Linked DNA regions of Homo sapiens: all the other regions are linked to region 1. Evidence: promoter capture Hi-C in 16 types of primary human blood cells and fetal thymus (Javierre and others, 2016). All regions are on one chromosome and are shown on one strand. Each heading gives the region's core, a stretch centred on a gene start or on the middle of the fragment in contact. The rest is flanking DNA. Distances are from core to core; before and after follow the strand shown. Region 1 holds the start of ZNF827 (zinc finger protein 827). Region 2 overlaps SLC10A7 (solute carrier family 10 member 7). Region 3 overlaps REELD1 (reeler domain containing 1). Region 4 has its middle 5.3 kb from the start of REELD1. Region 5 holds the start of C4orf51 (chromosome 4 open reading frame 51).

What was found. Contacts are between HindIII fragments. The CHiCAGO score rates a contact against its expected background, and 5 or more counts as called.
Region 2: a contact is called between a fragment that was not itself captured here and the fragment with the promoter of ZNF827 in region 1, in 1 of 17 cell types (total B cells). The highest score is 6.3, in total B cells.
Region 3: a contact is called between a fragment that was not itself captured here and the fragment with the promoter of ZNF827 in region 1, in 1 of 17 cell types (naive B cells). The highest score is 5.8, in naive B cells.
Region 4: a fragment that was not itself captured here is called in contact with the fragment with the promoter of ZNF827 in region 1 in 1 of 17 cell types (total B cells); the score reaches 5.1 in total B cells.
Region 5: a contact is called between the fragment with the promoter of C4orf51 here and the fragment with the promoter of ZNF827 in region 1, in 6 of 17 cell types (endothelial precursors, M0 macrophages, erythroblasts and 3 more). The highest score is 6.3, in endothelial precursors.

What each region holds. Positions count from the first base shown.
Region 1 is chr4:145,936,506-145,940,907 of GRCh38, forward strand. It overlaps ZNF827 (zinc finger protein 827), which reads right to left and starts at 2,318. Exons shown (of 15, transcript NM_001306215.2): 1 at 1,860-2,318. The coding sequence starts at 1,902. RefSeq lists silencers at 1-560, 661-1,070, 1,191-1,260 and an enhancer at 1,635-1,694. The HindIII fragment of the contact is 1,765 bases long and covers 2,060-3,824 here.
Region 2 is chr4:146,258,393-146,262,794 of GRCh38, forward strand. It overlaps SLC10A7 (solute carrier family 10 member 7), which reads right to left. Exons shown (of 12, transcript NM_001029998.6): 11 at 300-445. Among named protein-coding and RNA genes, the nearest start is that of REELD1, 46 kb to the left of the region's middle. The HindIII fragment of the contact is 832 bases long and covers 2,159-2,990 here.
Region 3 is chr4:146,230,060-146,234,461 of GRCh38, forward strand. It overlaps REELD1 (reeler domain containing 1), which reads left to right. Exons shown (of 8, transcript NM_001354631.1): 8 at 1-2,208. The coding sequence ends at 454. Among named protein-coding and RNA genes, the nearest start is that of REELD1, 18 kb to the left of the region's middle. The HindIII fragment of the contact is 2,516 bases long and covers 1,340-3,855 here.
Region 4 is chr4:146,207,076-146,211,477 of GRCh38, forward strand. No RefSeq gene overlaps it. Among named protein-coding and RNA genes, the nearest start is that of REELD1, 5.3 kb to the right of the region's middle. The HindIII fragment of the contact is 8,496 bases long and covers 1-4,402 here.
Region 5 is chr4:145,677,744-145,682,145 of GRCh38, forward strand. C4orf51 (chromosome 4 open reading frame 51) reads left to right here and starts at 2,403. Exons shown (of 6, transcript NM_001080531.3): 1 at 2,403-2,693. The coding sequence starts at 2,461. The HindIII fragment of the contact is 4,880 bases long and covers 2,324-4,402 here.

The sequences.
Region 1 (4,402 bases), core at 1,068-3,567:
GTACCGGGAAGGGGAAAGAAAGAGGAATGTTTGCGGAGCGGACTGCTTGCAAGTGCCCTTGCTCGCCACTTCGGCTGCGGCCCGGGTGACACGGAGGCGCGGGGGCGCCTGGCCCGAGCAGCCCGCGCCCCCCTCCCGGTCCCCTGGGCAGGCACCGCCGCGGTTATTTCGCGAGGGGGAGATCGATCGCCCTGCCTGTCTGCAGCGGAAAAGCACAAGCTCACACACAGCCCGAGCCCGAGACACCATAACCTTAACCCTTCCCCCACCCTCCGTGAACTTCAGGTGACCGACCACGTCGGCCTGACACCCGGGCGGGCGGGCGCTCCGGCTCCACTCCCGCCCCCAGCCCGGGTTTTGCAGGATCGGGCTCCGAGCAGCGCCAAACCGCCGGGAGAGGGGAGTAGTGTGGGGGGAGAGAAGAGAAATTGACCCTCCGTCTCCCCCGACCCCTCCCTCCGGCGCCTCCCGCGTCCCCTCCTCCCCGTCACCCCGCCCCACGCCTTCTCCCCTGCCCCCTCTTCCCTGCATTCAAGGAGCCGGGCGGCCCCGGGGGATATTTTTAGTTGCTTCTTTCTCCTTCACTTTTAGCTTTAGCAGCATCTCGAAACACTCAAAGCGGAGAAAGACTGGGGGGTTGGGGGGAGCTGGAGAGGGAGTGGGGGAAAAGTTAAGAGTCGCGCAAAGAAAAGCCGGAGGGAGGGCGGAGAGGGACCGGGGGCGCGGGTGGAGGAGGGGAAGGGGACCGGGCCGTGCCGGCGGGTGTGTGTCTCCAGTTGGCGTGTGTGGCTGCCGCCGGGGAGGGCTGTGATGCACTTTAGTCCTGGACTCTGCTCAGGCTCGCCAAGGAGGGGGTCTGAGAGCCCGAGTCTCGCCCGGCTCCGTCTGCTCCGACTGACCCCGCATTTTATTGCGGCCAGGAGCCCTGCTCCTCCCTCTCCTCCGCTCTGCAGGGACCTCGCGCGCCGCGAGCCGCCCTGCCTCCTGCCTTCGCCTCGGCGCAGCTCCCGCACCCCACATCCGCCCGCCGCTGCCCGGCCTCGCCCCCCGCCCGGCCGCCCCGCGCCCCGGCGCGCCCCCTCGCCTCGGCGCCGCGGGAGCAGCCGCCCGGCGGCGCGTGTGTACCCGTGTGTTTGTGTGCGGTGCCCCTACACCCTCCCCAGCCGCTCCCGCCTCGCCCGCCCCCGACTCCCCTCCTCCGCCGCCGCCTCCTCCACCTCCGCCTCCTCCTGCTCCAGCCGCCGCCGCCGCTGCCGCCGGCGGCTCGGGGGCCGACCAACCCCGGCGCAACCTTTAGCCAGGGACGGACCTCTCCCTGGATCCTGTACCCGGCGGCTGCTGCGCGCCCTCTCCCCGACACCCCCAAACGCCATGTCACGGCCCCCAGCCCTCCGCGCGCCCCGACCCCCGCACCCTCAGGCGCCGGAATCCACAAGGAATTTTTTTTTTTTTAAGATTCCAACCTCTCCCACCTCCCCCCACCAAACCCCCGATAAAACCCCCGGCATCCACACTACTCCCCTCCTCCCTTCTCTTGCCCCCTCCCCCCAGCAACCCAGAGTGAGGAGGGGGAAGGGGAGGGAAAGGGAAAAAAAAGCCCGATCTCAAGGAAAAAAAGGGGGGGGGTGAGAGAAAGAAAGAAAAAGAGAGAGAGAATAGAAAGGGCACGGGGCTGATCATCACCAACATGGCTGCCTCAGCATAGACCTAAACGAGGAGTAACCCGGGCTGTGTCTTTGTCAGTTTCACCTCTGTAACCCTAAACTAATGCAGAAAACAACGGAGGAGGCTGCGGAGGGGAAAGAGGAGAGGGAGGGCGAGAAAATGGCACGAGAGGAGGTGGAGAAGGGATGACTTACGTGAGGGAAGGCGCTTGGGCTGCTCCTGCTTCCTCCTGGGCATTTTCCCCCTTTTCTCACATTCTCCTCCTTGGTTAATGTGAGATCAAATAAACCCCCGTGGGGGCAGAGAGGCAGACACTGGCAGGAGCGGGGAGGTAGTTGGGGGGCGGGCGGGCGGGCAGGGGGAAACCCCTTCTCCGGTGTGTGCAATGGGTTGAAGCTTGTTTCCTGGAGCCAGAAGAGGGGTTTTCTTCTTTTCTTTCCTTTCTTTTTTCCTTTTTTTTTTTTTTTTAAATTTTTGGTCGTGCACCTGGCTTGTCCCCGAGCGTAATATTCTTCAATGGAAACGGATCTAATAGGTGTGAGTGTGTGTGTGTCCTATGCTCGCGTGTGTGATGGGAGGTATAAATAAATGAGTGCCGGTGCGGCGGTGTCTATGGCCGCGCTCTGTGTCTCCGAGCCCCTAACACTAATGTCGGGATCAAAGGGCAGCGGCGGCGGCAGCACAGCTCACAGCTCGCTCTCTTGCTCTCTCTCTCTCTCTTTCTCGCTCTCTCTCCTCTCGCGCTCTCTCTCTCGCTCTCTCTCTGTCACACACACACACACACAAGAGGCACAGACTGAGGGAAAGAGCGAGAGCTACACACACACACACGCACGCACACACACACACAGAGCAAAGAGGAAAGTGCCCCAAGGCTCCCAGGGCGGACTCAGCCTCGGATTTACAACCGCTCTGTCTGGAAAGAATGGGGGGCGCGCGTGCGGGGGTGGGATGGAGTTCTTCAAATTTATCCCGCTAGTCACCAAATCTAGGGGGAAAAAGTTTTTCTCACTCTTTAAACAACGATTAGTTCATTATTTTACTGACTTTTAAAAAGGAAATAAATTTCTCTCTTCACTTTCTTTTGTTTATTAAGCTACATTTTGTTCTGTATGAAATTCTGCAGGCTTTTGTCCCTACCCCATCACCTTAAATCTGGAGGTTATCGTCTCCCACACACTCTTCAAAAACATTCCAAAAAAACTAATTTAAAAAAAATGAAGACAACATATGGTGAAATCAATAACTTGGTTGACAGTTGACAGAATAAGTGCCCAGTTTTGGAGTGTCCACTGGAGTTAAAACTGAAAAATGCTCCTAAATGAACATTACAGCTACTTGACAAAGAGAGGAAAATAAGATTAGGTCACCCCTGATGGTTGCTTTAACTGCTACGTGATACTCCTAGAGTGCACACAGCAATCTTTACTTCGGAAATTCACTTTTTCCCCTGCTATATACTGCAGGTATATGAAGTTTACCCTGAAGCAATTCCAGTGTGCATTATGAGCCCAATATAGCAGTTTTCATTAACTGATACATACTTTCATTACCTTACAAATCACACATCTTTCTTCAAAGAGAGACATAAAGGAGAAAAATAGAAAAGGACGGGTCTCACTAGAGCACAAAAGGTACTTGGTGAAAGAGGACTGTTCTCTTTGTGACTTGCAGTCATTTGGATAAAAGTTCACTCAGAGGTTGTTAATGATTTAAACTCCAAAACCTGCTACTATAATTGAAATAAAAATGGTCTGAAGAAGAGTTGTTTCATAAAACTCTCTTTGTAAGAGGAAACTTTGAACTTAGCAGAATACATTATATGTCATGAGTCATGTAGCTAGAAAATAAAAAGGTGCATTATTTAACTACATCTTCCCTTTTTAGCTTTTTTAAAACTCTGACTCATCATCTTATTATGTTAAATATTTTCCTACCAATTTTTAAATAGACCTTTTCATCAAAGAAAGTGGAGGCACAGTAAAGACATAGAACATTAAAATGACACTCTATAAGCCTACATGGATAACTCATGCCTCTTTGAGGTTGAGTTAATTCTTACAACTTCAGTGGTGTTAAAGAGAGCCATGGGGGTTAAATTCTGACTTGCCTTATTAAAAATAATAATAAGGCTTTATATTGCACACTTTTATAAGTGAAGCTTAAAGAGTGCTGTATCTCCCAAAAGATGTCTTTCACTGATAGAGAAATCTCACGTTCAACCCCTCCCTGCCAACTCCCCCCAAAAGATCTAGCTTCCCAGTAACAAGTAATGCTATTGAAAGCGAGGTTTGAAACACCTGCATGAATTCAATCTAAAACCAAAACAGAGAGCAGTCAAGTTTAAAATGGAGCACCCTGTAATCCCAGCACTTTGGGAGGCGGAAGTGGGCAGATCACGAGGTCAAGAGATCGAGACCATCCTGGCCAACATGGTGAAATCCCGTCTCTACTAAAAATACAAAAATTAGCTGGATGTAGTGGCACACTCCTGTAGTCCCAGCTACTTGGGAGACTGAGGCAGGAGAATCGCTTGAACCTGGGAGGCGGAGGTTGCAGTGAGCCGAGATCGGGCCACTGCACTCCAGCCTGGCGACAGAGCGAGACTCCATCTCAAAAAAAAAAAAAAAAAAAAAAAAGGAGCATCATCCTTAAACCAGTTCTTCCTCAAATGTTGGTTTTAAAAAACTGGTAGTTAGGTTGCCCTGCATTATAATTTGAAATATAACTATCTTTC
Region 2 (4,402 bases), core at 1,325-3,824, 320 kb after region 1:
TATATTTACTGAACCTTTACCCCATATAATATGCCCTTCAATATGAATGAATTCAAAAGAGCTTGTAAAAACTGCATGTTAAGTATAATTGTCTTTTATAACAATTTAAAATCTTTAACCTCAACCCTCCTGTTCAAATTGGAATGGATCAGTGCACCATTATTATTGTATTTAAGTAAGAAAATATGTACTTGAAAACAAAGATATGCAAGCAAAATCGAAAGTGTATGAACAGTTCAGATTCAGGAACAGCATTTTAATCTAACTTGGATCCAAATAAGATCTTTCTGGGGACTCACCTTCTGCCTTGATACCATCCAAGACTTGATTGTTGGCACCAACACACTTCCCAGAAGGATCTGAGCTGGGTGGTAGATGAGCAAGGGTACAGATATTAAAGAGAGATGCTCATGGCCTGCAAACACGATCTTCAGCATCGGAATTCCTGTTGAACAAAGAAGACAGAAAACCTAAACCAAATTCAGTCTGTCATCAAATTAAATGCATACTCCATCAAAATCAGAACTTTGGAATAGGTTATTACCATATTTTCTCATGTTTATTCACAGAACTGAAATGGGAAAGTCTGAAATGGGTCACCAAAACTTTCCATCTTTCTTTCATGACATAAAGTTCTAACTAGGATAAGGTGGAAAGATGGTCAGTATTCGAGGGTACCAATAATTCTCACGGCAAATTAGAAGCTTATCTAACAAGGAGAGGAGAGAAGATTGCGTGTGATGGAGTTGCTTTAAGAAGGCTGAAAAATATTGGTGAGGGAGATGCTAAAAATGGATCTCTTCTTGCTTAGTAGTGAGATAGTCTGTTGGTCTTTAGGGAGGCCTGCTTGGCACCAGTTCAAAGTCCCAAAGCTTGCTTTTGAGAGTAAAAAAATACGGTAAGATCATGTATGGTATACACTGCTATAAGTAGGAAGGCATTTTAGTCAACTGGACCTTAAAGGATTTGTATGTTCCCTTTCAGCCAAGGATCTTAAAGTGCTTTACGATCATTAGGTAAGGGTCATACAGATTGGTCTATGGAAGATGAATACAAAAATTAGCCAGGCATGGTGGTGCACACCTGTAGTCTCAGCTACTCAGGAGGCTGAGGCAGAAGAATCGCTTGAACCTGGGAGGTGGAGGTTGCAGTGAGCTGAGATTGCATCACTGCACTCCAGCCTAGGTGACAGAGTGAGACCCTGTCTCGAAAATCAGGGCTGAATGTTTAAACTCCACAGTGAATGTCTTCATGGAACTCAAATGAATACTACTTCATGAGTCTACTATTCTATTATACCAAGAGCTGGGTGTGTATATTTTATAAGCTGCTGCCTATAGAGCATAATTTTTGAGCTTCTATAACTAACACAATTCAGACACTAGCAGTCTAACTATTATTACTAATTGTTTTAATGCAGCCACAGTCTTCAGAAGTGCTATGTATGTATCAGCTTCTTCAACTGAATAGCTTTAATAGCCTAGCTTTCTTGTTTCTCTGATAACAGCCTCTGAAAAGGACCTAAGCTCCTAACCATGTACAATGATGGCACATAAATAACTTTTTATTAGAACACAACAAGGAAGGCTTAGCTTTTTCAATTATTTTTACCTTCTAATAAATTTCAAACCTTTATGCACAAAATGTGTTTCATGGTTACTTTCTTTTTCACAGCCTCACATATCATTGCCATAAACTGAAAACACTTAACTCTTCCCAAACATAGTCTCTGAGAGCTTCTAAAGTACATGCTTAGATTTTTTGCAGTTTCTGTCTTTATACTAACATAAAAAATGAAGGGCCTTTTTTTAAAAAAAAGCTTTAAAAATCTACTGCTGAAAAGCAGCATCTGATACTATAGTTTTGAAAAGCTGTTACAATGAGAAAATAAAATCTGAACACAACTCCTCCTGTTTCCAAGAAACGTTATTCATTCCTTGGCCCAAAGAGGTGATGCTAAGACATTGGGGGATGGGAGTGGAGTAAATGTGAGGCTAAAGGGAGCAAGTGATAGAAGTATCATGATATTTTGTCCCTAAAAATGACCAGAGCAGGATTTGCTAACCCCAGATTTGAGGACTGAGGCTGCTGGGCTAAACCACCTATGTTGTCCATTCTTAGCTAAGAATCTGGGCTCTGTGTCATTCAGTCTTCAGCAAGCTTAAGTGATCTCAGAAGGGAAGCCATAGAGATAGTCCCAGATGCTGCTGCTACAATAAGTAAACAAAAAGTTCTATTGATGAGGAAACTGAAGCACCTAGTGGTCAGGAAAATTTCTTAGTGGTAGGCTCTAAACTGCGACTCAGGCAACCTGAATTTCCAGTTCTCCATATCAGGTAAGGTCAGTTCCAGATGCCATGGGCACTGCAGCTGCTGTGAAAAGGGAGAGGGCCTGGCATGCAAAACACTTTCAAGTCCAGCTGTCCTTTTGGAACTCATTCTCCTTGAAGACCTCCCAGAAGCACTTCCAGGGGCAGTATGGTGTCAAACTCCCGTGCTCGCCACACCAGGACGTCCCTGTGATTTCAAATATGTCAAAAGCAACTGCTAGGGCTACCCCAATAGTGGCAAGGAAGCCATGGATTCAAAGACATAGCTTTGATCCTCAAGAAGCTGAAGGTGGACAAATGATCTCTCCCTTCTTTGGACCCTAATGTCAAGTTTTAGGAAGTTCTCTTCCGGCCATTGCTGGTTCTTCAGCTCTTATCTCTCTCCTTCAAACACACCCTTCTCTCCACTGCTCTTGCAAGGAAGCTGGGACTCTGCAAACACCTGTCCTTCTGGTCAGCTGCTCCTTGCAAGGGGCCCCAGAGGAAGGCTGGAGGAGGAGGAGGAATTTCTTTCTAGTCTGGGCTTCCTGCCAGGCCCCTTCACCAGTGCAGGGGTACTTGGCTCCAGCCTATAACTCATCATGCCCCTGAGGGCCACAGCACCAGCGGGGCAGTGCCCCTTCTCAGATGTCTGAGAACCTGCTCTGCTGCCTCTCTCCAAGCTTCTAGGTTCTGAAAATTCTAACTTCTTCCCTTTGCCCCCCCAGCTCCAGCTACTTTCTGCATTTATTTGTCTTGTTCCCTCACTGTTGCCATTTCCCTTTTCAGCTTTCCAACACTATTTAATCAATTCCCTGTATTCAAAGGGTGATTTCTGCTTTCCTGACGGACCCTGGTTGCCCTCTTCTTACTCTGCCTTGTATAACAGTCATTCCCTTTGCTTGAAAAAGAGAAGGGATCCACGATCACTTGCAGCTGCGGCCAAAATTTGTCAAATTAAATAGGAATTTCCCCCTACCACTTTATGTGCCTGCAATATCTTCTTGCTAGTCATTAATCAAATTTCCTATCTCTACCCCCACAAGTGAATAATGTTAAAAATATGTTTGAAAATAATATATCAGAGAAAAAAATAGCTCCCAGAGGTCATGGTCCAAGTCTCTTTCATGTACCCTCTCTATGCCACTCTCACATGGTGGATTCACAAGTCAATCACTCGCCAGGGGGAGGCCCACTCCAGCGACTCGAGTCATATGTTACTTGTTTTAGGAAACTTTATTTTATTTCAGACAATGCATGTCTGAAAGATGCTAGAAGGCCCATATTGTAAATGGATTCTTTTTCTGACTAACTTCCACCAAAAGCATTTCCCCCACTGCTCTATGGACTTAAAATTTTCCTTTTCAATCATTCAATTATCTACTTTCCTTTTCAATTATTAGAGTTTCTTCTAAATCTATTTATCTCAACCTTTTCTTTCCTTGCTTTCTTTCAACCTCTCCCCCACTTCTCCTCCCTGCAATCCCAAGCATCTACTTAGTACATCTTCAGTTTCTCCAAGGTCAGAATAGAAAGAGAAGTTGGGATAAGCAGAGTGAGAGTTAACACTTCCCATGTTCGAGTTTCCATGCTATGGTGGCGATCATTTGGAAGTGGTGAGCTCAATATCTCTTCTCTAAGGCATCTTTGCTGTTAGCAGCACTATCTGGACAACAACTGGAAACTTGGGGGTCATCTCAATTGTTGAGAGAGGTTGAGAACCTGCTAAAAGCCACTGCACTTACCACACTGTGATTTCTGTCAGCTGGCCAAGAATTCGGCAACATTTGCTCTTCACATCAAATCAGAGAAAATCAGCTGCATCTCTTATTCCAGAAGACTATGTAACGCACCACTCTTTTGTCCTCATCACTCACTTGCTTACTAATCCACTTGCTCACTGATTTATTCAATTAGAACTCATGTAACTGATCAAGTACTCTGTAGAAGGGCTAGGAATCCTGGGAAGCGTGATTTGACCTAACCCTGCATTTCCATAACTTACTGGGCACATGGGTGACCACTCACACCTCCATCCCCCTCACCTTCGTTTAAGAGCACCTCTTCCACAGTCTCGAACCAGTCTCTCTGCC
Region 3 (4,402 bases), core at 1,348-3,847, 290 kb after region 1:
TGGGCTACCTGCTGCTGGTGACCAGTCAGAGGCATCCAGGGCCTCTGCCAGCTTCTTACCTCAGTCAAAGCACAAGGAGCTCAGAGCAGGGAAGGGAAATGGAGAGGGTGGAGTGGGATACCCTCGGCAGACCAACCCACGGCCTGACATTGGGCTAGAGGGAGCCCAGGCCCCTCTGGGTATCCAGCTCAGAACTCCTCAGCTGGGAATTCTGCTTTGCCTGTCAGCCACCCTGGGCATGGCCCTGGCCGCTGGCCTTCGCTACCTGCACACCCAGTATTGCCACCAGCAGACAGAAGTGTCTTTCAGTGAGCCCGCTTCGGATGCTGTTGCCAGGAGCAACAGTGGTGAGACTGTGCACGTCAGGAAGATTGGGGAGAACAGTTTTGTTTTGGTTCAAGCAGAGTACAACTGGATCACTCCTTCTGTGGGTAGCAAGAAAACAGTCCTCTGAGAAGACTGTCACCCCAGACCTCTCAGTGGCCCTCCTTGGGCCCTGGAGAGTGTCCCAGACAGAGCAGAGATAATGAGAATAACTGATGAAGACAGGGACTCATTGTGCCTCTGTCAATGTGCAGTTAGTGGAGGAACCCGGGAGAGGACACTTTCATCAACAGAGGGAGTTATTCCTGAGCTTTGTTGTCTTAACATCTGTAATTGGGCTTCCTTCTTTCTTTTTGCAATTAGACGTTCTGTTTGAAGACTTAAACTCAACACAATGAATATTGTATAACCCGCTCATTAACTAGACCCCTGTGGCCACTAAGCTTCCTCTGTTGTGGTAAGGAAGCCATAGAAATAAAAATACTGTCCCTCCTTAGTGTCTCATCTCTTCTAACTCTTTGGGGAAAAAAAGTAATGTTGGGTTGTGTCTCCTGCAAGAAAAAGAACTGCAGCTCTCACTTTGCCTTCCTAAACCACCCCCAAAGAAGTTTTCTTTTCAAAACTGAATTCAACAACTTGCTAGAGTTCTGATTTGGATGACTAGGTGAATGCAAGGGTATTTGGTCTTCTGGGCAACTCAGCAGCCTGGCAAATCCGCCATGGAAATTGATCCAAAGTCAGGAAAGTTTTTGAGAGCTTGATTGAACACATCTTCAGGAAAACATATACATGCAACACAAGGCCGTAAACACCAGAGTGGGGTAAGAAAGCCTTTTCATCAGGTGTAAATGGATCTGAGACCTCCCATCCATTTACACTTGATGGAAACATTCGTGTATCCCAACAGCTAGCAGACATAGTGCCTTTTGCCAAAGGTCAGGCTGAAAAACATTATTATACCAGCATAGTTTGAAGAACAGTCTTTACTTGTCTTTTCAGGGAATATCAGGAAGAAAGCTTCATGGATGAAGGTCATCTACCTGATCTCATAACCTTATGAAGATTGCTTTGATTTAACAGTGGCTCCACAGATACTATCTGAGGTCAAAACAACAGATCTGAATATAACTCTTAAATATGCTCACCTAATATAGCACATAGGAATTAGCTGCCTTTTCAGAGTGAAACCTATTATAGAGTCATCATTTTAATGCAGAAACAAAAATCACTACAAATTCGGAAAGGATATTTGTTTATTGAACACCTAATTCATACGGGAACTGTGCTAAGTAGTTTGCGTATATCTTCACATTTAACTCTCACAAAAATTTAATGAGGAATAAGTTCAGTAGCTTTCCAAGGAGAATGAGGCTTTCCTTATACCTCAATTTAACAATTTTTAAAAATTGAGTGTTCAGGAAAGAGACAGCTCCTGCCTTTTCCACACCTCGCTTTAGCTCATTGGTCATCAATTCCAAGACTCTCTCCTCCTGGATTCTGGGCTAGGTAGCTCTGTTCCCTGGCTTCAGCCATTAGATGCATGGAGACCTAGGTAATTTGTGCATTCACAAATGAAAGTGTTCTAGGAATACTGTGGAAAGAAACAAAAGTACTGTAGTCTAATAAGGCCACAGATATCCCTTCTGTATGTCTAGCCCTCTAAAAGACGTTCTCCCCAAGAAGCAAACAAGGGACCCCATTAGTGGAGAGCTTTCATCTGGCCACATCACATCAGAGCCAGATGCACCATGTATGCAAACTTTTTTAGATCTTTTCTGTCTAAGAGAGAATTTTCCTATGTAAACAGACTGTTTTGCTTGTCTATTGATGTGAACAAATTACCTCTAGGCTTAGTAGTTGAAAATAAAATCACCACCAACACCACCATTTATCATCTTTCATGATTCTGGGGTTGCCTGGGCTCAGCTGGGCAGTTCTTCTGCTCTCAGTGTTAATGAATGGGATGGGGCAGCCTAGTTGACTCCCTCACATGGCTTGCAGTTGGTGTTGGCTGCCAGCTAAGGGCCCAAATGGGTCTGCTGAAGAATGTGGGAAGCAATATGGTTCTGTTCTTTGCGTCTTCTTATGCCATATGGTGGCTGAGTTCCAAGAGGAAGTGTGCCAAGCACACAAAACCAAAGGCTGCATATCTCTTAAGACCTAGCCCTTGGAAGTTGTCATAGTGAGTCACAGGACCAACCCTCATTATTCAAAAGGAAGGGCAACAGATTTCACTTTTTGATGGGAGAAGTGACAGAGGATTTGCAGCCATCTTTAATTCACTTGCCCTTCTGCTTAGACTGCTGATCTGCCATGGGGGGATTGTGTGAGACTTGAAGAGATGCCATTCATCCCTGGGTGATGAGGGAGGTGAGAGGAGTCTCCAGATTTCAGGGTCCGGTATTTTTCTCTTCTCCAGTTGGACTTCCAGCTTATACAAAACAGTAAAGTGATGCAGAAGGGTTAGCCAGGTCTCTGAGCCTCATCTTCCTCATCAGAGAAAAGGACATCACAAAATCATTCAGCTCTTTTGGTTGATGTAAAGATTGAATGCATACACAATATTTAGCTATCCATAACCAAACTGACATACCATTGTCATTAATATTATCTTGAAGCTGCAACACTGTCTTTACGTGTAGCCCATTTAGAGAAATTCTGTGATCATGAAAAAAAGTCACTTTCTTTTCTTTTTTTTTTTTTTTTTTGAGACGGAGTCCCGCTCTTTAGCCCAGGCCGGATTGCAGTGGCACAATCTCGGCTCACTGCAAGCTCCGCCTCCCAGGTTCATGCCATTCTCCTGCCTCAGCCTCCCGAGTAGCTGGGACTACAGGCGCCCGCCACCGCGCCCGGCTAATTTTTTGTATTTTTAGTAGAGACGGGGTTTCACCGTGTTAGCCAAGATGGTCTCGATCTCCTGACCTTGTGATCCGCCCGCCTCGGCCTCCCAAAGTGCTGGGATTACAGGCGTGAGCCACCGAAGTCACTTTCTTTCTATGACAAATTCTCCTCTTCTTCCTTTTTTTTTTTTTTTTTTCTGAGATGGAGTCTTGCTCTGTCACCAGGCTGGAGTGCAGTGGTGCAATCTCAGCTCACTGCAACCTCTGCCTCCTGTGTTCAAGCAATTCTCTTGCCTCAGCCTCCTGAGTAGCTGGGACTACAGGCACGCACCACCATGTCTAGCTAATTTTTGTATTTTTAGTAGAGACGGATTTTCATCATGTTGGTCAAGATGGTCTCTATCTCTTAACCTTGTGATCCGTCCACCTGGGCCTCCCAAAGTGCTGGGATTACAGGCGTGAGCCACTGCACCCGGCTGACAACTTCTCTTGAAGCAAACTTCCCACCTCACTTCCCTGGCCCAGTCACTTGAAGGCCACACGAGTTGTCATGGTAGTCACTGGCTACAATTCCTACCACGTATCAGATAATTTTTTGCTGCAGCATTCTGACTAGACTCTTTTTTGGCCAGGGCAGCTGGAGTCCATGGGCCTATACTCAAACTACATAAGTGATCGTGAAGGTCCTCTAAGCTTCACAGAAGCCCCAGAGGGGAATGAGTAGGAAGTGTTAACTTAACCTGAAAGCTCTTACTAAAGCATAAAGCCATTAAAAGTAAAAAGAAAAAAAAAAAAAAAGAAGGGAAAGGACTCAAATACAACATCTTAAAATAGTTTTTGTGTTTTGTAGGAACAGCTACAAAATTGCTCAGCCAACCTCTTCTTGGAGGAAAGAAGGTATGCGGCTAAACACATATTTGAGGGAAAATGATGGATAAATAATTGCTGAAAACTTATTATATTTTAAACTAATGCTTTTATATCTATAGTGCTAATTTAATAACTACACACCATGGGTAGTGGTAGCCTTAATCTTTTTATATTCAGAGACTATTTTTGATATTTTCAATTGATTTTTTCCCATAGATAGAATTTTAGTAAAGTACAACTTAACATTTTACTGTAGCTTGGCTTGCTGTCCCACTGTTGAGGCTATCTGCATTAATTTGCTGTTATGCTGTTTGTTTTCCTTAAAAAAAAAAATTAATTAGCAAAAAAAAAAAAGTCAGCAAACCAGT
Region 4 (4,402 bases), core at 1,077-3,576, 270 kb after region 1:
GAAAAGCAAAATATACTAAGGACTATCATACCAGAATTTTGTATAAACTTAAACTATTTCAAGTAGTATTTTCTGCTTACCTATAGATTCCTCCATCAGAGACATGTGAATTGGGCTTTGTGGGGGAAAGTGCAGGTGTTTTGGGGAGGAGTAAAACTGATGCTAATCATTGCTGCTCCCCTATCTTGTGAGATAGGGAAAACAGTCAACATAGGGTTTAGTGAAAAGATGGTGTTAAAGAAGTCTCATTGGCTTGGCCTACGGTAGACCTTCTGTTAAACTCTTAAGGGATCTATTGCCATGTGGATTTTGCTCACGTTACTGAAGGGTTTTTATGGGAAGAAATTGTTAAGCACTGAAGGGGAATTGGGAAATCTGGTATTTCTACTTCCAGCTTTTCTAGACTGCTTGCTGGATGGTTGGAAACAAATGATTAAATTTCCTAAGGTGCCTCAAACTTATTAAGCTGGGGCCACTCACATACTGGCGGTGTGCTAAGCGGGCTCCTGGGATTCTGTGTCACCAGGCAGTTTGCTCCCAAGAGAACTGGCTCAGATCCTAGCAGTAAGTGCCAGCGTAACGTTTCACAGCTTTGGGGTGCTGCCTGAGAAGTTGACTCTATTGCTGTTTTGCAGGAGGTGGTGAAAGAGGCCTGTCGGTTTTAGATGTCTGTTTAGTAAAAGAAAGGACTGTGATGGCAGACTTGCAGCTGGTTTGAAGGAAATGTGGATCCAGCTCTGGAGCTGAGTCTTAGAGCAAAAGAAGGAATTGGTCCTGCAGAAATGGCCCATGAACGTGGACCAGAGAAACACTTTTGGAGTTTGGCATTTGCAGGTTCCTTGAAAAAATGTTTTAAAATTAAAAGTTAAAAAATTTGATGAAGGACTTTCTCATTCAAAGATTTTAGTATTTCCCCATTGCCAAGGGAGATTGGGGGCTAACCAGACAATTAGTTGCTTCTTGCTGCAGAGTGGATAAGAGGTTTGGATTGCCTCTTTAAAGGAGAGTAAACCCTGTTTGTTGTGACTGCTTCTGTGATGGGCGATCAAAGGGCAGTGTGGACGATGAGAATATAAAGGATGACATTTAGATACTCAACCATAATGCTGCATTCTTTACTTTTAAAAAGAGAGAGAAGGAAGAAAAGAAAATATATCCTTACAATTTTTAAATGTTCTTTAATTTGAGAAAACCCGCCATGGATGGAAGGAAGGACAAACATTTGACATTGTTCAATATTGAGGGCTCCTGAAGTCTAGTTACCCTGAAATAGCTTTTACCTTCTTGCTTTGAAGTAGTGGGTCCCAAAATCAGTTTGCCCGCTTCTGGTAGGTTTGCTGGGTTAGGATGTGAGGTCTGCAGAGAAAGAAAGTTCCGGCTAGATTTCTTACTTACTCAGAGTGGCCCTCCAAACCCTGGTCCGTATCAGAGAAGCAGGAAACCAAAGTCTTGTCTCCCACCCTTAATTAGCTTTTTGGAACCATCCCACATCACTTTTTCTGTATGTTTCCATGTTCGTGACTATACAATGGCCATTGTAACAGCTTAGAATTTAGGGGCACAGGCTCCAGAGCTACTCTGCAGGGGTTTGAAACTTAGCGCCTCCAATCATGGGCAATGTGACTTCAAACAAGTTGCTTTAATCTTTCTGTGCCTTAGCTTTCTCATCTGTAAAGTGGAAATGGGATTAGAACATATTTTATAGGATCATTGTGAGGATTAAGTGAGTTCATACATGTTCAATGTTAGCTGTGTGCCTGGCACATGGTAAGAGTTCAATACATGGGACCTATTATCCTTGGAAAGGTTGGAAAAAGGATGCATTAAAATAAGTGGAACACATAGAGTTCTGAACAGAGAGATCCATGTTCCTTTGTCTTCTTTAGCGTAGGTCTATGCTACATTATTTCACAGATAACTTACGATGTTCATAGTGCTGTGCTACGCATCCAAGCTCGGCAATTTTAAGACAATTCCTACCCTACAGGGATTTAGAGCTAGGTCAGTAGGAAAGATGGCACACTTAAAGCTGATCAGTTGCAATCCAGGGCGGTGTATGGGATCAAGTGCCTACACAAGGATAAAGGGTATACATGGTGTAGGATCCTAAAAAGATACGATAAAACATTCATATACGTATAATAGAAGTCCCCAGAATTATTCAATGCCAATCTTTGAGGTTCATTTTTGCATGCAGTCACAAGATATGAATGTTTAGGCTTTGAAAAGGGAAAAAGAGCCTCTTAATCAACTCCAGGTAATGCTTTTTCTGTCCTGCTATAACGATACATGATCATATTTCTCTAATCATGAATCTCGTTGTTTTGCAATTATCTGCTGATGCATTGCTCTGCTTTACCAGCCCTGGAGGAGTGAAGACTATGTGTTATTCATCTTTATATCCCCTGCCCAGAGCCCATGACCTGCACTTAGTAGGCATTTAATAAAGGTTGGCTGAAGGAATGAATAAATGCTCAGAGTACATTTCCAGTGTAACTAAAATTGAATGCCACCAACTCCCCTCTTTTGGACATAAATTATAGTACTTGTCCAGACTCCCTAAATGCCAATTTTTGATCCCCACTTTGCCTCCATACAAAAGGTCTCCAAGTCTTACTTCCATTTACTCTCTCAACATCTCAGTCCCCACTATCCTGCGTCAAATGCACCTCATTTTATGTCTGGATAATTACTACAAACACAGCTAGTGTTCACACCTTTGTTCAAACTCTCTCTCCTGCTTTGAATATCCTTTTACCCATCTCATCTGTCTAAACTCCACCTAACCTCTAAAATCAACCATATTTTCCTGATTCTACTTGAAATATTCTGGCATCCCAGACTCTGGTAACCTGGCTTTTATCTCTCTTCTGATCATAGCTTGTTTACTGCTCTGCATCACTGCTAGAGAGCATCTAATCCTTACAACACCTTTGTGAGAAATCTAATAGTCTCCCCATTTTGCAGATGGTAAAACTGAGGCTCACCAGCATTAACTTTCCAAGGTCATGTAACTAGTTTGCTGTCTGACTTCAGAGCTCTTTCTTCTTTACCTTGCTACCTCACCCCAAGTAAAATGTCAGTTCCTAGGGAGAAGATCCTGCCGATACTTTATCAGCAGACTCTCTTGCAAGTTGCTTTACAAATAGTAAGAATTCAAATATTAATTAACTTAGAAATCCTGTTTGACTGTACTGTTCTTTAACAGGGATAATGAAGGAGAGGATTATTGGGTAGAATAAAAGCACTAGGCTGGGCACAGTGGCTCACACCTGTAATCCCAAGATTTCGGGAGGCAGAAGCAGGAGGATTGCTTGAGCCCAAACAGGAGTTTGAGACTAGCCTAAGCAATATGGTGAAACTCTATCTCTACAAAAAATACAGAAATTAGCCAGGAGTGGTGGCACATGCCTATATTCCCAGCTACTCAGGAGGCTGAGGCTGGAGGATCACCTGAGCCTGGGAGTTGAGGCTGCAGTGAGCTGTGATTGCACCATTGCACTCCAGCCTGGATGACAGAGTGAGACCTTGTCTCAAAAGAAAAAAAAAAGGCACTCAACTTTTTTTTTTTAAATGGCAGAAAGTGCACAGTAGCATGGAGGATGATGCAAAAGTCAGCAGACCTGCTAAACGTACATGAATGACCATTGACTTCCCACTTTCATGTAGAGTTTAAAGAGAATTGTATTTTTCTCTTACATAGATTATCCCAGCACTCCAGAAATCTTCAGATAGTTTTAAAAAATCTATCTAAACATTAAAATGCTAATCACAATGATGATACTGGAATAGCAGATTTCTATGTAAAAACACCAGTCAATCTCAGCAGGAAGTCATTACCAAGGTAGGAAAAACATTTGGATAGGAAAGACTGTTCATGAGTTACAAAAGCCATTATCTTCATCTCCAAGATCTTTGAAAATGAAGAAAATGTCCACTTGTCTGCTGGAGTGAAGGAGCAGGAAACAGGACTAGAATAGTGAGCTCAACAGGTTCCTCCTTCATTTGCAAACTTTTCCAAGGCAGACTCTTAAACCAGGAGTGAGTGTGGGATGGTGTCAACGCAGGTTATAATTACGTGCCAGACTTTAATGCATGCCATCTCAAGCTGTTTTAAGAGTAGCTCATTCTTATGCCTTTATAACTAAAATAAAACCTTGAAAATGTGTATCATTTTCTTGCTGGAAGAAATAGAAGAGATTATTTAATTCAAACCTTTTTATTTTATACCTGAGGCAACCCAGAGAAGTTAAGTGATTTACCGAAGGACACAGAGTATCTGATTTATAACCATAAAACCCACCCCAAGACTTTCCCTTGGTATGACGTTAATATTAACTGTTCTACTCAGGGCCAGGGGATGTTAAGGTAACAGATTCAATCATGTTAATATATCAAGTCC
Region 5 (4,402 bases), core at 1,153-3,652, 260 kb before region 1:
CCATCTTGAGTCGATTTTTTATAAGGTGAGAGATGAAGATCCAGTTTCATTCTTCTACATGTGGCTTACCGATTACCCAGCACCATTTGTTGAATGGGGTGTCCTTTCCTCACTTTATGTTTTTGTTTGCTTTGTTGAAGATCAATTGGCTCTAAGTATTTGGCTTTATTTCTGGGTTCTCTATTCTGTTCCATTGGTCTATGTGGCTATTTTTGTACCAGTACCATGCTGTTCTAGTAAGTATAGCCTTGTAGTATAGTTTGAAGATGGGCAATGTGATGCTTCCAGATTTGTTCTTTTTGCTTAGTCTTGCTTTGGTTGCACAGACTTTTTTTTTATTGCATGTGAATTTTAGGATTGTTTTTTCTACTTCTGTGAAGAATGATGATGGTATTTTGATGGAAATTGCATTGAATTTATAGATTGTTTTTGTCAATATGGTCATTTTCACAATATTAATTCTACCCATCCCTGAGCAATGTGATGTTTTTCCATTTGTTTGTGTCACCTATGACTTCTTTCAACAGTGTTTTGTAGTTTTCCTTGTAGAGATCTTTTTTTTTTTTTTTTTTTTGAGACGGAGTCTTGCTCTGTCACCCAGGCTGGAGTGCAGTGGCGCAATCTCCGCTCACTGCAAGCTCCGCCTCCCGGATTCACACCATTCTCCTGCCTCAGCCTCCCAAGTAGCTGGGACTACAGGCGCCCGCTACCACACCTGGCTAATTTTTTTATTTTTTAGTAGAGACAGGGTTTCACCGTGTTAGCCAGGATGTCTCGATCTCCTGACCTCGTGATCTGCCCGCCTCAGCCTCCCAAAGTTCTGGGATTACAGGCATGAGCCACCGTGCCTGGCCTCCTTGTAGAGATTTTTATTTTATTTTATTTCATTTTATTTTATTATATTTTATTTTTGTTTGAGATGGTGTCTTGCTCTGTCACCCAGACTGGAGTGCAGTGGCACAATCTTGGCATCTCTGCAAGCTCCACCTCTGGGTTCACGCCATTCTCCTGCCTCAGCCTCCTGAGTAGCTGAGACCACAGGCACCCTCCACCACGCCAGGCTAATTTTTTGTATTTTTAGTAGAGATGGGGTTTCACCATGTTAGCCAGGATGGTCTCAATCTCCTGACCTCGTGATCTGCCTGCCTCAGCCTCCCAAAATGCTGGGATTACAGGCGTGAGCCACCGTGCCCAGCCTCCTTGTAGAGATCTTCCATCTCCTTTGTAAGTTGTATTCCTAAGTATTTTATTTATTTATTTATTTTGTAACTGTTATAAAAGGGGTTGAGTTCTTGATTTGATTCTCAACTTGGTCGCTGTTGGTTTATAACAGTGCTACTGATTTGTGTACATTGATTTTGTATCCTGAAACTTTACTGAATTCATTTATCAGATCTAGAAGCTTTTTGGATGAGTCTTTAGGATTTTCTAGGTATATGATCATATCATCAGTGAGCAGCAACTGTTTGACGTCCTCTTTACTGATTTGCATGTCCTTTATTTCTTTCTCTTGTCTGATTGCTCTGGCTAGGACTTCCAGTACTATGTTGAATAGAAGTAGTGAAAGTGGACATCCTTGTCCTTTTCCAGTTCTCAGGAGGAATGCTTTCAACTTTTCCCCATTCAGTATAATGTTGGCTGTGGGTTTTACATAGATGGCTTTTAGTATTTTGAGGTATGTCCCTTCTATGCCAATTTTGCCTCAAGTTTTAATCCTAAAGGGATGCTGGATTTTGTCAAATGTTTTTTCCGTGTCCATGACCTTAATTCTTAACCCTGGCTGCTCTTTAGAATCCTCCAGGATTAAGCTTTAAACAAATAGTGATGCCTGGGCCCTACTCCACATGAACTAAATCAGAATCTCTGTGGTGGGGGCGTGGACTCCTGCTTATTTTAACAGCTTCCAGGGTGACTCTAGTGTGCAGCCAGCCAGAGCACCACTACTCTGTGACATATGAGAAGCTGTTGAGTCACCTGCTATTGTTGACATTACAAGCAGTTCATGTTCTCTTCCAGACACTTGGAGGTCTTTAGGAGAAGTGAATGCTTGGCACTGTTCTTTCATCTCTTGTTTCCACTTCTTGAACCACCATCATTAAGAATTACTGCTTTATTCATGATAGCAGTAAAATACAAATAATTTTGCCACCTGCTTTCTTGCCATAATTATGAAGCAGCATATTTCATATTTCTTAGAGCAAAATCCAGAAAGTTATATAACTTACAAATTTGTTAGTTAAAATTTACCTCCCTTGGGAGGCAAGGGGATAGCATTTGTGGAATTTTGTGATCTGTTGCTTGGCAACTATATCTAAGACAGTTAAGCTTCTGCACTCTGTGAACTGTTGAGTCACAAAGTTTGGTGAGCCCAGTCAATTGCTTCCTGCTACTAGAAGGAAATTAATTCTTCATTATGCAGAGGACTTGACAAGTTGTTTTCCAGAGAGGCCGTTCGTAGTTATGTCACACTACTTCTACTTGACTCCACAAATTCTTCTGCCCTTTAGCCCTCTTACTTCTCAAGAGTTTGATCTGATCAGACGCAAGGCTGGAGCATCTTGGCAGGATGAAACACGATGGTCAGATTCTTCCGTGACAACATACACAGGCAGTTACCGGAAAAAACAACTGGACAAGTCCATGTGCAGCCAATTTTCTTTTAGAGCAGGACAGCATGAGCCTGAGTGTAAACAGTAAGATTTCTTTGTAATTTGCACCTGGATATATCACTATAAATAGACAAGAGTGCTCTTAGAAGAAAGAGGTATTGTAGACCCTGAGAGACTTCATAGACTTTAACCCTCTGTATTTTCTTTTGTAAATGTCAGCAGGAAGAAGAGCTAAATGTCAGTGACCAGCTGAAATTATGATCCTATTCTCTATTTAGTATTCCTAAAATTACATATAACTACCTAGTCCTGAAAGGATATGGATATGAATATTTGACTAAATTTTGGGTATTTGGGGTTCTCTTTTCAGCAAAAAGGTGCTCCTGAGAATTTCATTTTGTTTCTTGTTTGGTTTTCTGGCTTTCAGGAGCTTAAAACTTCCTTCAGAGGAGGAAGAAATTCATGAAATCCTTCCCTACTCCCTACCTGTGGTTATTGCATTTTCTGAGTGTTTTCTGTAAGCCAGGCCCTGTGATAAGCCCATAATCAAAAAAATTAACTTCAGTTTATAAAGTGACTGGAACTAGGGAAATAAGTAATCAGCACAAAGTAAGGAGATTTTGTGGGTGTCTGGTGAGGGAGGGAGTGTTGTGTGTCTGAAGAGAGCTCAGTAAAATAGGTTTCCTCCAAGCTGGTTTGAAAGGCAGGCGAGGTGGGGAATGGAAAAGCACACTGCATGGAGAAAGAACCATTTAGCCCCAAGCACTGTCAAGGAGCTGCAAGGAGCTAAGTACATTTGAGAAAGTATAAGTGGGGATGTGGAAAAATGTCAGGACTTGTTATGAAATCTATCCATCTGTATATATTAATTGGTAAATATTTTATCCAAATTCTTGGAACATATTTGATAATCAGTTGAATTATTAACCTCAACTTCAGATAAGAGCAATAACCCACATAATACCCTGATAAATATTAGTTATATTTCCATCCAGACCTTTCCAAATCATCAAAACAAGTACTTAAAGATAAAATGTCTCAGAAGTACTTCTCAATTGGGTGCCTTATCTGGTTTAGTCCAACAAAGTATAATTTCTGCATTTTTAAAATAACTCTCAAGTATATTGACACTTAATTAGCTTTGGACATCCCTTTGCTACTTTTTCTGTGATACTTGAGGTTCATCTTGGCCAGGTAGTGAAGTTGTCTTAGTCCATTTTCTGCTTCTATAACACAATACCACAGACTGGGTAACTTATAAATAATAGAAGTTTATTTGGCTCAGGGTTATTGGAGAATGAGTAGTCCAAGAACATGGTGCCAGCATCTGGTGAGGCTCATCTTATTGCAGAGGGTGAAAGGTGGAAGAGAGCACTTATGATAGAGAGAGATACCAGAAACTGAACTTGCTTTATAAACAGCCTCCTCTTGAGATAACTAACCTGCTCATATGATTAATCTATTTGTGGAGGTTCCACACTTATGACCTAGTCACCTCTTATTAGTCCTTACCTCCCAAAACTATTGCATTGGGGATTAAATTTCTAACACATGAACTTTTGAGTGACACACTCAAACCATAACAGGAGTCTTTAAGCACTGCTGAGGTCCTGTCTGAAAATAGTGTTTGAAAGAAAGATGGTATCCAAACAGATCCATTTACCAGAGTAGGAAAAAAGGTACTATATTTAATAACTCTGAAAAAAATGCAGGAATAGGACATCTGGTGAAAATGTATAGGACCTGGAATTTTTTCCTATTCAGAGAGTGATCATTATGTGAATCATTCCAAC